Linked DNA regions of Homo sapiens: regions 2, 3 and 4 are each linked to region 1. Evidence: promoter capture Hi-C in 16 types of primary human blood cells and fetal thymus (Javierre and others, 2016). All regions are on one chromosome and are shown on one strand. Each heading gives the region's core, a stretch centred on a gene start or on the middle of the fragment in contact. The rest is flanking DNA. Distances are from core to core; before and after follow the strand shown.

The links. Contacts are between HindIII fragments. The CHiCAGO score rates a contact against its expected background, and 5 or more counts as called.
Region 2: a contact is called between a fragment that was not itself captured here and the fragment with the promoter of POLR1E in region 1, in 1 of 17 cell types (naive CD8 T cells). The highest score is 5.1, in naive CD8 T cells.
Region 3: a fragment that was not itself captured here is called in contact with the fragment with the promoter of POLR1E in region 1 in 2 of 17 cell types (fetal thymus and activated CD4 T cells); the score reaches 8.8 in fetal thymus.
Region 4: a fragment that was not itself captured here is called in contact with the fragment with the promoter of POLR1E in region 1 in 1 of 17 cell types (erythroblasts); the score reaches 5.6 in erythroblasts.

The regions. Positions count from the first base shown.
Region 1 is chr9:37,484,545-37,487,356 of GRCh38, forward strand. It overlaps POLR1E (RNA polymerase I subunit E), which reads left to right and starts at 1,404. Exons shown (of 12, transcript NM_022490.4): 1 at 1,404-1,579; 2 at 2,159-2,262. The coding sequence starts at 1,504. RefSeq lists an enhancer at 869-1,460 and a silencer at 1,202-1,531. The HindIII fragment of the contact is 1,288 bases long and covers 1,204-2,491 here.
Region 2 is chr9:37,023,302-37,026,113 of GRCh38, forward strand. The region is part of intron 1 of PAX5 (paired box 5); the gene reads right to left. Among named protein-coding and RNA genes, the nearest start is that of PAX5, 9.6 kb to the right of the region's middle. RefSeq lists an enhancer at 1,487-1,756. The HindIII fragment of the contact is 1,264 bases long and covers 705-1,968 here.
Region 3 is chr9:37,077,872-37,080,683 of GRCh38, forward strand. It overlaps the pseudogene EBLN3P. Among named protein-coding and RNA genes, the nearest start is that of ZCCHC7, 41 kb to the right of the region's middle. RefSeq lists an enhancer at 1,730-2,209. The HindIII fragment of the contact is 456 bases long and covers 1,113-1,568 here.
Region 4 is chr9:37,781,558-37,784,369 of GRCh38, forward strand. EXOSC3 (exosome component 3) reads right to left here. Exons shown (of 4, transcript NM_016042.4): 2 at 2,357-2,506; 3 at 429-580. Among named protein-coding and RNA genes, the nearest start is that of EXOSC3, 2.1 kb to the right of the region's middle. The HindIII fragment of the contact is 4,430 bases long and covers 1-2,812 here.

The DNA of each region.
Region 1 (2,812 bases), core at 154-2,653:
GTTGGGACAATGGGTGAACTTAAATGGGATGTGAGGATTACATGGTGGTAATGTACCAGTGCTAATTTCCTGATTCTTTTCTGTTTAATTTTTTTTTTTTTTTTTGTCGCCCAGGCTAGAGTGCAGTGGCACCATCACAGCTCACTGCAGCCTCTGCCTCCTAGGCTCAAGCAATCCTCCCACCTCAGCCTCCCGAGTAGCTGGGACGACACGCGTGCGCCACCACACATGGCTAATATTATTTTTTGTAGAGACAGGGTCTTGTTATGTTGCCCAGCCTGGTCTCAAACTCCTGGAATCAAGGGATAGAACTGCCTCTCCCTCCCAAAGTGCTGGGATTGCAGGCGTGAACCACTGCGCCCGGCAATTTGCTGATTCTGATGGCTGTGTTGTTATTTAGGGAATGTCTGTAGGAAATACTATAGTCTTCAGGGTTGAAAGGGTATCAGGTTGACAACTTACTCTAAATGGTTCAGGGCAAAAACATTTCTTGCAGTGTTTCTTTACGTTTGAGATTGGGTAATTAGAAAAGCGTGACAAGTGCTCAGGCAAAGGGGCATGCAGGCTTTAGGGTTATTCCTAGGATCCTGGGTGTTGGAGGCGGGTGTTGAGGGTGTGTGGAAGGAAAAGAGTCTTGAAAGAAGGTGATTTGGAAGACAGAGGGGAGTCAACCGGAGTTCTTGCCCTTCAATAGTACGCATCTTTGGGCAAAGGGGGCCTCGGCCAGCGTCCATGCTTAAAGGCCCTGCTTTCGCCTTCTTTCTGCTCTGAAAACTCCCCGTGCAGAAGAAGGGTTGAATCCGCAGTGAAAAAGGGACATGTCCATCAGCTCGGACTCCCTCTTCTATTCCAGTCCAGAATCTCCTGCCCAAAGGCTCCGGGGTTGGCTGGGCTTCTGTTCCATCACCTCAGTGTTGATTGGGCCACAGGTGTGCACGCCACAGCCCATGGCGGGGAGCTGTTTGTCGGACTGTGGACAAAGTTTGTACCTAGAGCTGGATGTCCACGTGGGTGGGTGGGAAGCCCTAGAGAGGGGCGGCTATTCGCCAGCGGCCACATTTAGTTGGGGCTCAAGCAGTTCCTGTCAGAGAATTCTAAATTTGAACTTGGTCCTTCAGGTCTTGGGAAGATGAGTTTGTCACGGTAGGAGAGAGAGACGACACTCTCTTTAGAAGGTGCTGAGCCGGAAGAAGGCTCATAGCAAGCTTAGGCTGAAGCCTTTGGCGCCTCGGGCTCTGGACCTACAAAACCCAGAGTGCACGCGAGCGCTGAGCCAATCAGGTGCTGCGCCTCGGCCAGTCAAGCGGGTGTGTGGCACCTTGTGGGCGGAGACCACGCCTCTCTACGCGGGGGGCGGGGACACGCGGCTCGCGCGCTGTGGGCGGTGCCCGGCGGGGCCACGCCTTTTCCGGCCCGCAGCGCGGCCTGGGCTCCCGCGTGTTTAAAAGTGCGCTTGTGGCTGCTGCTGTCTTAACTCCTGTGCTTGGCGGACAGACAGGCGAGATGGCGGCGGAGGTGTTGCCGAGTGCGAGGTGGCAGTATTGTGGGGCGCCCGACGGGAGCCAGAGAGCTGTACTGGGTAAAGACTGCGGAGCTGGAGCAGTGCTCCTCTAACCCTCTCCCCTTCCGTCTCGGTACCTCAGCTGTCCTCTCGCCCTCCGTTGGGCTTCTCCCCAGCGGGGCCGGGACCCCTCTAGTCTCCACCACTCCCCTGGGCTCTGTCAGGGCTCCCCTGTCCGTCTTTCTGTCACTACCTCCCAGCCAGATTGGGACATCCCACTCACCCGCTCCCCAGAGCTGTGTCCAGGACCCTGCTGACCCCCTCACCCACCAGGTCTCCCGCCTCCCCCATTTCCCTCTCTTCACTGGGCAGGGGTTCCTTCTGTCACTTTAGGTATGTACCAGGCCTCTGCTGTCAGCCTCCTTCCGCGAGACATTCCCTCCTGTCACAGCCCCTCCCCAGGGTTCTCCCACCTCCCTACCTCCTCTTCTCAGCTGGCCCCGGATCTCCTCCAGTTCCCTTTGGGTCAGGACCCGAGCTTCCTTGCCATCCCCATTCTGACACTCCCTCCCAGTGACAGTCTAGTCCCACCGTACATTGTGTGGTACATTGTGTGGCCTTCTGCTCTCATCTCATTCTTGGGCTGCACTCTTACAGTCCAGTTCTCCAACGGGAAGCTACAGAGTCCAGGCAACATGCGCTTTACCTTGTATGAGAACAAAGATTCCACCAACCCCAGGAAGAGGAATCAACGGATCCTGGTAAGTGAAGCAGTTGCCAGCTGTCTCCACTCTGCAGGGCTCAGAAGGCCCCTGGGAGTGGGTGGATGTGGGAGGGAGTGAGGGGAGAAAAAGGGGAGTAGTAGCAAATGGAGCTTTGAAGAACTCTGATGCCCAGCAGCCTGGGATGTGGGGACAGGCTCCATCTTTCATTCATTTGTTCTTTCAACAAGCATTTATGGAACCTGCCCCTCTGCATCCCTGTGCTGCAAGCTTCTAGGAAAACAGCCAAATCAGGCCTAGCCCCACTCAGAGTTCATACTCTAGAGCAGGGTTTCTCAACCTCAGGACTATTGACTTTTTGGGCCAATAATTCTTTGCTGTGGGGGCAGCATCCCTAGTCTCTACTCATTAGATGCCAGTAGCACCAGAGTGGATTTCCCTGGATTGAGAACCTCTGCTCTAGAGAGATGAGAACTGGCTGTGAGGGACACTTTTACACAAAGCTCTGAGGCCACGTGGGGAAGAGTACAGGGCAGAGTGAGCTCAGTGGGAGGAGAGGTCTCTGCCAGAATGCCTTCCTTGGTGAGGT
Region 2 (2,812 bases), core at 87-2,586, 460 kb before region 1:
GGGACTTCTCTAGACAGAGGACCTTTGTTTTCTGGGGTGCCAGCTCTGGCCCTGCATCTTCTTGGAGAACCCAAGTCCCAGCCTGTACTTCCTATGGACTCCAGTTAGGTGAGGACTCATCCCGTGAAAGGGGGACTGACACAGAGACAGAGGCAAACAAATCAGGTGAAGACCAGGAAACAGACCCACAGATACAAGAAAAAGACAGACCACAGGACAGGGCAGACTGGGCAGTGTTTGGAGGGGAGTGAGGAGAGAAAGACTGAATTGCAGAGGCCCCTGAGGCCTTTGTGACTCTGGTATGGAAAGGGCTGGCCTCCACAGATGCTCCTCAGGCCCTGATAAGGTCATGCTACCCACCACAGGCCCTCCCAATACCCCCAAAGACCATGGCTGAGCATAGGATTTTGGGGAAAGGGACTTTGCTGACTCAGCCACAGATTGAGCTCCAGGACCCCCACAAGATCATTAAAATTTTTCCTAGATGCACCAGAAAGAATGAAGGGGTACACAGACAGGCAAACAGGGGCACAGGGAAAGGGCAGGGAAGAAGTCTCCCTAATGGTATTGATACATGTGGAGAGTCAGGCAGTAGACATATACATGGTTAGACTAGACAGAGAGAGAGCTTTGCATATGTGTATACCCACTGCCCTCTCTCTGGAATCTGAGTCCCTCCCTCTCCCCTTCTGTGAACCCTCTGAAGCTTCATTTTAATGCCTTTGTCAGATGGTCAGGGAGACCCAAGAACCAGCTCCAGCTGTGCCAATGTGAACTTCTTGAGTCAGTCCTTTTGTCTCTCTGACCTCAATATCATATTCTGCAAAATGGGTGAAGCTGAAGGTTTAGGCCACCGTCAGGTAGGACCCTGGCTATGAGTGTTTTATAACTGGTAAAGATACCTAGGGGAACCGCTCAGGAAGAGAGCAGGAGGTTATCGTGCTGATGAAAATGATGAGCCTGGAATAGTGGGTGGGGACTCCTCCAAACTCAGAAGCCCATTTCCTGGAAGTCCCTGCTCCTCTCCAAAGAAGCTATCCGGCTCTGAAGCAGTGGTGGGGGGAAGCAGTGGTAGGGGGACGGAGGCAGGGAGCGGTAACAGGAAGAAGAAACTGACTGGGCCAGGAGGAAGGTGACGAAGTGGGACTTGATCTGAGCCTCTACTACCTCAGCCACCTTCCAGGATCTACTGTACCCCCCACTCCCCATTGCTAGCAAGTTGGGGCCCCAGAGCAGGCCTACATTGTGCAAGAAAACAGCTTTGGGCCTCAGAACCGAGAGTGCTTCCAGAGAAGCCAAGGTCTTGCACCTGCTCTGGAAGCTAGACTGGCTGGGGCCCAGCCCCCACTGTGCTGCCAGGGAGATTGAAAATGGGAGGGAGCACTTCCCACGGAGGGGGCGATTGAAGGCCGGACAAGGAGGCACAGACATTAGCGGTTGGCTAACCTGCACCTGAAAGAAGCCGCCTTCTCCACACTGATGCTCAGCCGAGAGACCACCAGGTCTGATGCTATCTCCCCAAGGGCTAGGGCACAACCTCTGGGCCACCGAGCGCTGGGCGGAAGGACACAGTGAGGGCCTGTGGATTTCCACCAGTGAGGAGAGAAGTGCAGGGGCTGGTGCTCCCCATCTGTCCCCACAGTTGCTCCTTGGCTGAGCCAAGGGCTTGCTCACCTCTCAGAGCATTGCCCTAACTGGTTTGTTTTGGGCTTACATTGCAAGATCAGGTCCTCCCCAGAGCCAGGCTGGAGTCCGAGGCAGAAAAGGCTGTGGAGGGCACTGGGGTCACCACAGACTGGAAACCGGTTGGGCGCAGGCCCCAAACCTTGAGGAATCGTTTGGGCTGGGACCAGAACAGGGGGCTCCTCTGCACAGAGCTCCCCACCGCTTTGGTGGATTACTTCAGACTCAGAAAATTGACACAAAGAGAAACTGACCTGCCCGCAGCCAGCCCTGGCTGCCTACACAAGCTTTCCCCTGCTTGCCAGGCCACTCAGCACTGCGTGGCAGACACGGACATGCTCGCCCCGGGAAGCTCACCTTCACTCCAGCCGGGTCTCTGCTGCCTTTGTTAAATAGGGGACCTGCGGCTAGGAAAGCTGGATCCCAGGCTGTTGGGATGGGGGGGAGCGGGGTGGGAGGACCAGGCATGGGGACGGCTCCTAGCCCGGGAGCAACTCCCTGACCTGAAGCCCGCAGAGACCCCGAGCGGCACCCGAGCCGAGGCTGCCGAAGCCTGTCACCTTCCTCCAGCCTGGCTCTGCAGCAAACAGAAAGGAAACGCGATTCGTTCCACTTGGAATTTCCTTGAAATCTCCGAATCTAATCCGGCGTTAACTCACCGTGAGAGGAGCGCTCATCTCACAGGAGGCTGTGGTAATGGGTGAATTGGCAGGATCCCTGCGGGCCAGGCAGCCAGGCCGGCCTTGCCCTCGCCCTAAATGACCCTTCCCGTCTCCTACACACGCTGCGTCTTTCAGAGGCGGGGGTGCCTGCGTGGTAACTAATTGGCTTCCTCTTTCTTTCTTTCTTTTTCGTTTCTTATCCTCTTTTTTTAAAGGGGAGAAGCCATGAGAAAAGGCGTCCTGCAGAGAAGGACCCAATGGGGTCTTTAAGGGTCTCTGTATGAACTGGCCGGCTCCTAAGCAGAAGCTGAACTCAGAAACCGCTACTTCCTTGATTTTTCAAAGCCCCCTCCTCAACTCCAGGACGCCTTTGGAGCCCTAGCCCCGGTGTCCTCGCTTAGCTCTCAACCTCTTCCTCCACACATACAGACACGGGTCAGGGCCCCACTATCCCTCCAAGCGCCAGT
Region 3 (2,812 bases), core at 91-2,590, 410 kb before region 1:
CTTGAGGAGAATTTAGAGGGGCCAATGAACTGGCAAAGTGTTTCATTATGACAGGAGAAAAATAGAGCAGTCTACGCTATATTAAAAGTATGCAACAATTTATTTTATTTTAATCTTTTTTACATTCCTGGTAACTCACAGAACAAAACAATTTATTTGTATTTGTATTTACTAATTTAAGAAATAGAGATGGGGTCTCACTATGTTGCCCAGGCTGGTCTTGAACTCCTGGACTCAAGTGATCCTCCCACCTCACCCTCCCAAAGTGCTGGGATTACAGCCATGAGCCACCGTGCCCAGTCCCCCATTTTTTTTTAATTAAAGTTATGGGGTCTCTTATCCAGGCTGGAGTGCAGTGGTGTAATCACAGCTCACAGTGACCTTGAACTTCCAGGCTCAAGCAATCCTCCCGCCCCAGCCTCCTGAGTAACTAGAGCTACAGGCGTGCCCCATCACACCTAGCTAATATTTAAAATTTGAATTATTTAAAAATTTTAATTTTTATTTAATTTTTATAAAAAGATTTTATAAAAAGGAGATTTATTCTTTATCTTATTTTTTGAGACAGGATCTCAGTCTGTCACCCAGGATGGAGCACGGTTGCATGATGCATCACCGTGCCTGGCTAATTTTTAAAATTTTTTAAGAGATAGCCTGTTGGTATATTACCGAGGCTGGTTTCGAATTCTTGGCCTTAAGAGATCCTTCCCCCTTAGGCTCCCAAAATGCTGAGATTACGAGTGTGAGCAACCCCACCAGCCCGGCCAGGCATTCAAAATTTATCAGACCCAGAGAGACCTGAGTATGAGATGTCAGTTAGCACCATCCCCATGTACACTAGCAATTGTTTAAAGGCACTTTGTTCTTTTCTGCCCTGTACAAGCATCACCCTTTATCTTCGTGTTCCCAGAATCCGTGATAGAAAGAACAAGTATAGCCAATGGATAGGTTGTTATTTTAATGTAAATTCTTGGAATACAATTTAGCAAGGGCCTCTTCTTTTTTTTTCCTTTAAAAATTCACTTGTAGCCGGGTGCAGTCGCCCACACCTGTAATCCCAGTACTTTGGGAGGCAGAGATGGAAGGATCAATTCCTTTGAGACAAGAGTTCAAGCTTCCTGGCCAACAAAACAAAGAACTCACTTGAAACTGCTGCTAAGATCATGTATTAAATTAAGGGTAACTTGAAGTGATGCTCCCAGTTTGCATTCTTGAGACTTGGCCCAAATAAATTCTCTATTTATATTAACTTTGCCTCCGTTTTTCCTTTAGGTTGACAGTTATTTCTAAAGTTGTACAGAAGGGTTTACCTTGAGTATTAAAATAAGGTGTGAGAAAGGCAACTGAAGCCAGAGGCTCCCATCACAGCCTTGTGGCCTTCGGAGGCTTCCAAAGGATCAGCATTAACTGCAATATTTAGGAGGAGTGCAGCTCTTCAAGATTCATAAAGTGTTAAATCTGTTGCCTGGAATTCCAGAAAGAGGGGGAGGAAGAGCACAGTGTGAACTGTGTTCAACTTCAACCTAAAGGTAAAAGCGATCAGCCTAAGATCAGGAGCGCAAGGGAGAAGCTTGAAGCCATGCGTTCTCACGGAGGCGTTTCCCGCTCCAGGGCTGCCCAGGCCCGCGGGCCAAGCAGCTAGCCGTGCGGGCCGTCGTCACGCCCGCGATCAGATCAGCTCCCCGCCACGTGGCACTGGGAAGGCGTCCACCAAGCTCCAGGGAGAAGGAGGCGGAGCCCGGCCTCAATCTCACCCGTGTCCTCATGGGAGTTGTAGTTTTCCTTGCGGGCGTAGAGGGCACGAACTCCCGGCTTTTGCCCGATAAATAGCATCTCTTTTGTACGAGTCATTCAAATAATAGACGCAATCTAGGTAACTTCAAGAGAAGATGGGAAGGGGAAGGGGCAAAGCATGGAAGGCAAATCTAAAGATTATGGGCGGGGCAGAGAAAGGTTCGCACTTAGTACGCATGCGCATACCAGGCGCGACAGGTGGGCGGACACAGAAGGCGACGCCTAGGGCTGTGTTGTCCCGGAAGTGCCTTCTCTCCTCCCGGGTCTGCGCGGACGCGGCCTCCTTACCTCATTTGTCCTCGCCCCTCCCCGTCCCTCTACGCGTTTTGGTCCCTGTTTGGTGCTTTCTGTTTGCAGCTACGGCAGTGAGTATGTATGTGACGGACCCCGAGTCACCCGCGGCCTGGGACCCCTGCCTACCCTCCGTCTCGCCAGCCGAGCTGTGGAACTAGCGCGTGCCCCCTCGCCGACCTCGGCGTCTCCGGTCCGCCCCTCACTTGTGGTGGGGCGCAGCTCCTGGTCCCTCAGCTGCGCGCCGCCCCACGCGGCCGGGCTGCGGGTCTAGGGGGTCCGCATCTCCCTGGCTTTCCAAGGGCTAAGGTCGTGATTCTAGGGCGGCTGGGCGTCCAGGGCCTCGGTGGGGGTGGCGTGTCTGCCCTTTTTATCTCCCCGCAAGGCCCCCAGTCTTCTAGGGAAGCCAGTCAGTGAAGCGCGGAGGTCCGGGCGCGCCGAGAGAGAGTCCAGTCTTTGAGGACCGAGTAGTCCTGGGCCACCTCCCGCCTCTGCTGTCAGAAGCAGCAGCTGCCGCCGTGGAATCCAAAATTTCGGGAGCTGTGACCCTTTCCTCATGTAAAACGAGTAGTCTTGGACGGTGAGCGGACAGTTGCCTTCAACTTTTGGGAAGAGCTGCCGGTTCGGTGGAAAAGCTGTGGCTGGGAATCAGGAGGCCTGGGTTCTAGCCGTGGCTCCCCCACGGACTCGCTGGCGATTCCAGAAAGCTCTTATTGAGGCTGAATTT
Region 4 (2,812 bases), core at 147-2,646, 300 kb after region 1:
CATAACCTTGAACATCACAATCTAAGCTGCGTGTGACCCCCATAATTAGAAAAAATTGATAATTTTATACAACTGCAGACTGCATCTGTATTCAAGTGACTCAGAACAGGGGAAAGGCCAGTTTTCACATTTGGGCTAAGTCAAATAAGCAACAGGCCTGGGAAGGAAGATATGAATACAGAGTAAGAGCTTAAGGCATGAAGTATCAGCCCACCAGAAACTACACAGCCAAACACATCTGAATTTGATATGTTTCCAAGAAGATAGGATTAAATTCATGAGTTTCCAAATGTGTTAAAATGGATACTGATTTCTAACTCTGAGGAGAAATTCAAACGTTACAAAGAATCTGAATCCTGAAGATTAACCAACTTTCCAAGAATGTATAATTATAAAAAGCAGTCAAGCCAGCAGACATCAGGACTTACTTTCTAATTAAGCCCAGAGTCACTTTAAAAAGCAGACCATCCTGTCCAATGACACCCATTCCATTGGCTCGTCCACAGCTGTCAATACAGACCATCTCTGGTTCCATGTCTTTATTAGCAACCACAAACTGGCCATAGATGAGATCTCCAACCTACAATGATATTAAAAACCAGTTCATTTCCTCTCAGCAAACTACAGGTGCTACTATTGGTTCTTTCTCACAGGCATCAATGCCAGCCACCTACAGTTCTGTGGCTAAGGGACTGACTGCACTATAGGATTCCCACAGTCACTTTGGAGTTGAGTCTTGGGGAAAAAAAGGAACACATGTATCATTCCCTTTCACCAATCAGGAAATCACAGACGAGGAGCCATCTCAAGGCCAGAGAACACTAGGATTGCACTGTCCAATATGGTAGATAGCCAATTGTTTAAACTTACATTTAAATTAAAATTAGGTATTTAAAATTAATTTCCTGAGTTGCATTAGCCACATTTCAAGTGCTCAACAGCTAGTGGCTACCATACTAATCAGTGCAGATACAAAACAGCATCACTGTAGAAAGTTATATTAGGTCGCACTACCCTAGAGAATTACAGATTTACAGAGAAAGGAAGGAACTCCGGCATGCAAATTATTCAAAGCAAAATCAAACAATAATTCACTGACACTTCTCCCTGCAGGATTTACTTAAAAACCTCATAGAGCTAAACTTCAAAGGGACGAAACTGAGGAAATGGAGAGTGAACTCATTCTGTTCACTCAACAAAACGTATTAAGTACCTACTGTTTGTTGGTGACTATGTAAACTAGAAAGGAACAAAACATTCTCTGCTTTTCAGAAGCATTTGGTCTTGGAGGGCAGTGGGGAGGTACATATAAACAAACCTCAGTCAAGGCTCAATCCAGTAAGTGCTAGAGCAAAGATACGAGAAAAGTGGCAACTAGAGATGGCTTTACAGAGGTGGTCATGTTTAGCCTACGTCTCAAAGAATGAGAATGTGTTCCATAGGGTGCGAAGGGATAGTGCAATCAAGACAGTGGGAACAGCATGTGCAAATAAGGGCAGGAAATTGAGTTTAATGGCGTTTGGTGTGATTTGAGTATGGCTGTATGAAGGATATAATTAGGGATGAGGAAAGACACCTGGAGTGTAATGCCAAGGAATTCTGTAGATTTTGGAGAATCTTGTCTTTTCGAGAAAGTGACCGTGTGAGGATGTCAGCTCTCAAAATCCTGGATGGTGAGGTAAAAGCGTGGAGGCAGGGATTAATGAAGAAGTGACTGAGACCAGTCAAGAGGGAGCTGAAGCCTGAACTTGTGGAGATAAAGGGACGGACATGCCAAAGATCAGAGACAGAATCAAATAGGATCAAAATAGGATTAAGCAACTAAATTTGCATGAGAAGTGAATGAGAAGAGGTGAAGAAATCACTAAATTTCAGGCTGGATAGACAAGAAGAGTGTGGCTATGCTACCTGAAAAGCTCAAATTGAAAACCCAAGGTAACAATATTACTCCTCTATCAGCTCCTAGGACCTACAGCCAGGATGGATGGATAGCTGATAATGTCAATTTGCACCACCTGTCCCTCCTCTAAGCCTACAGCAGACATCCTTGTCCAGAGGATATGGACATAACAAATAATGGCGATGATAGATACAACCTTTCAACTCAGTAGAAATGAAACATCCCAAGAACAAATGTAGCCAATGTAAAATAAATTGTAAATGTAAAAAATAATAATAATAATTATGTGGCTCTGATCCTGGAGCATCTGAAGAAACTCTTGGAGCCTGGGGCAATTATATACAAGCTCAGAGATCTAGGTCATGCTTTGGAGACAATTCAGATAGCCTTCTGGATATGTGAGTGTTCTAGGGAATGGATGTTTGTTTCTTTGAAACCAAAGGCTCCCGTAATTACCTGCACATTTGGTCTGTTTCTTTTAGTTGCACCTTCAAATGACAAGTAAGACAAAGAAGCTGGCTCACTCCCTCCAACATCAACTTTGAATATATCTCCAGATTTAGCTGTCACTATGCCAATCACATGGTCTCCTTTTACTGGAACATACTACAAAAAGAAACAGAATGAAAAAACAGCCATAAATGACAAGATACCATTGGAAGATACCTTCAGCAAGTCCTTTGTGGTTACTTTATTGTCATTAAAGAGAAATCTGATCAAATGCCACTTTCGGTAAAAGAAAATCACTTCATAAAGTGCCGGGTGTGCAGCTTCTGGTAGTCTGTTAATTGAGTCCAAACTCCATTATCTCTTAGGCACCCCAACCAGTAAGTCTCTAGCTTTGTGGCATAAGTCCAGTGGCAAAGGAATCCTTACAACCAAGGAAGCCCATTCCATAGACAATTTTTTCTA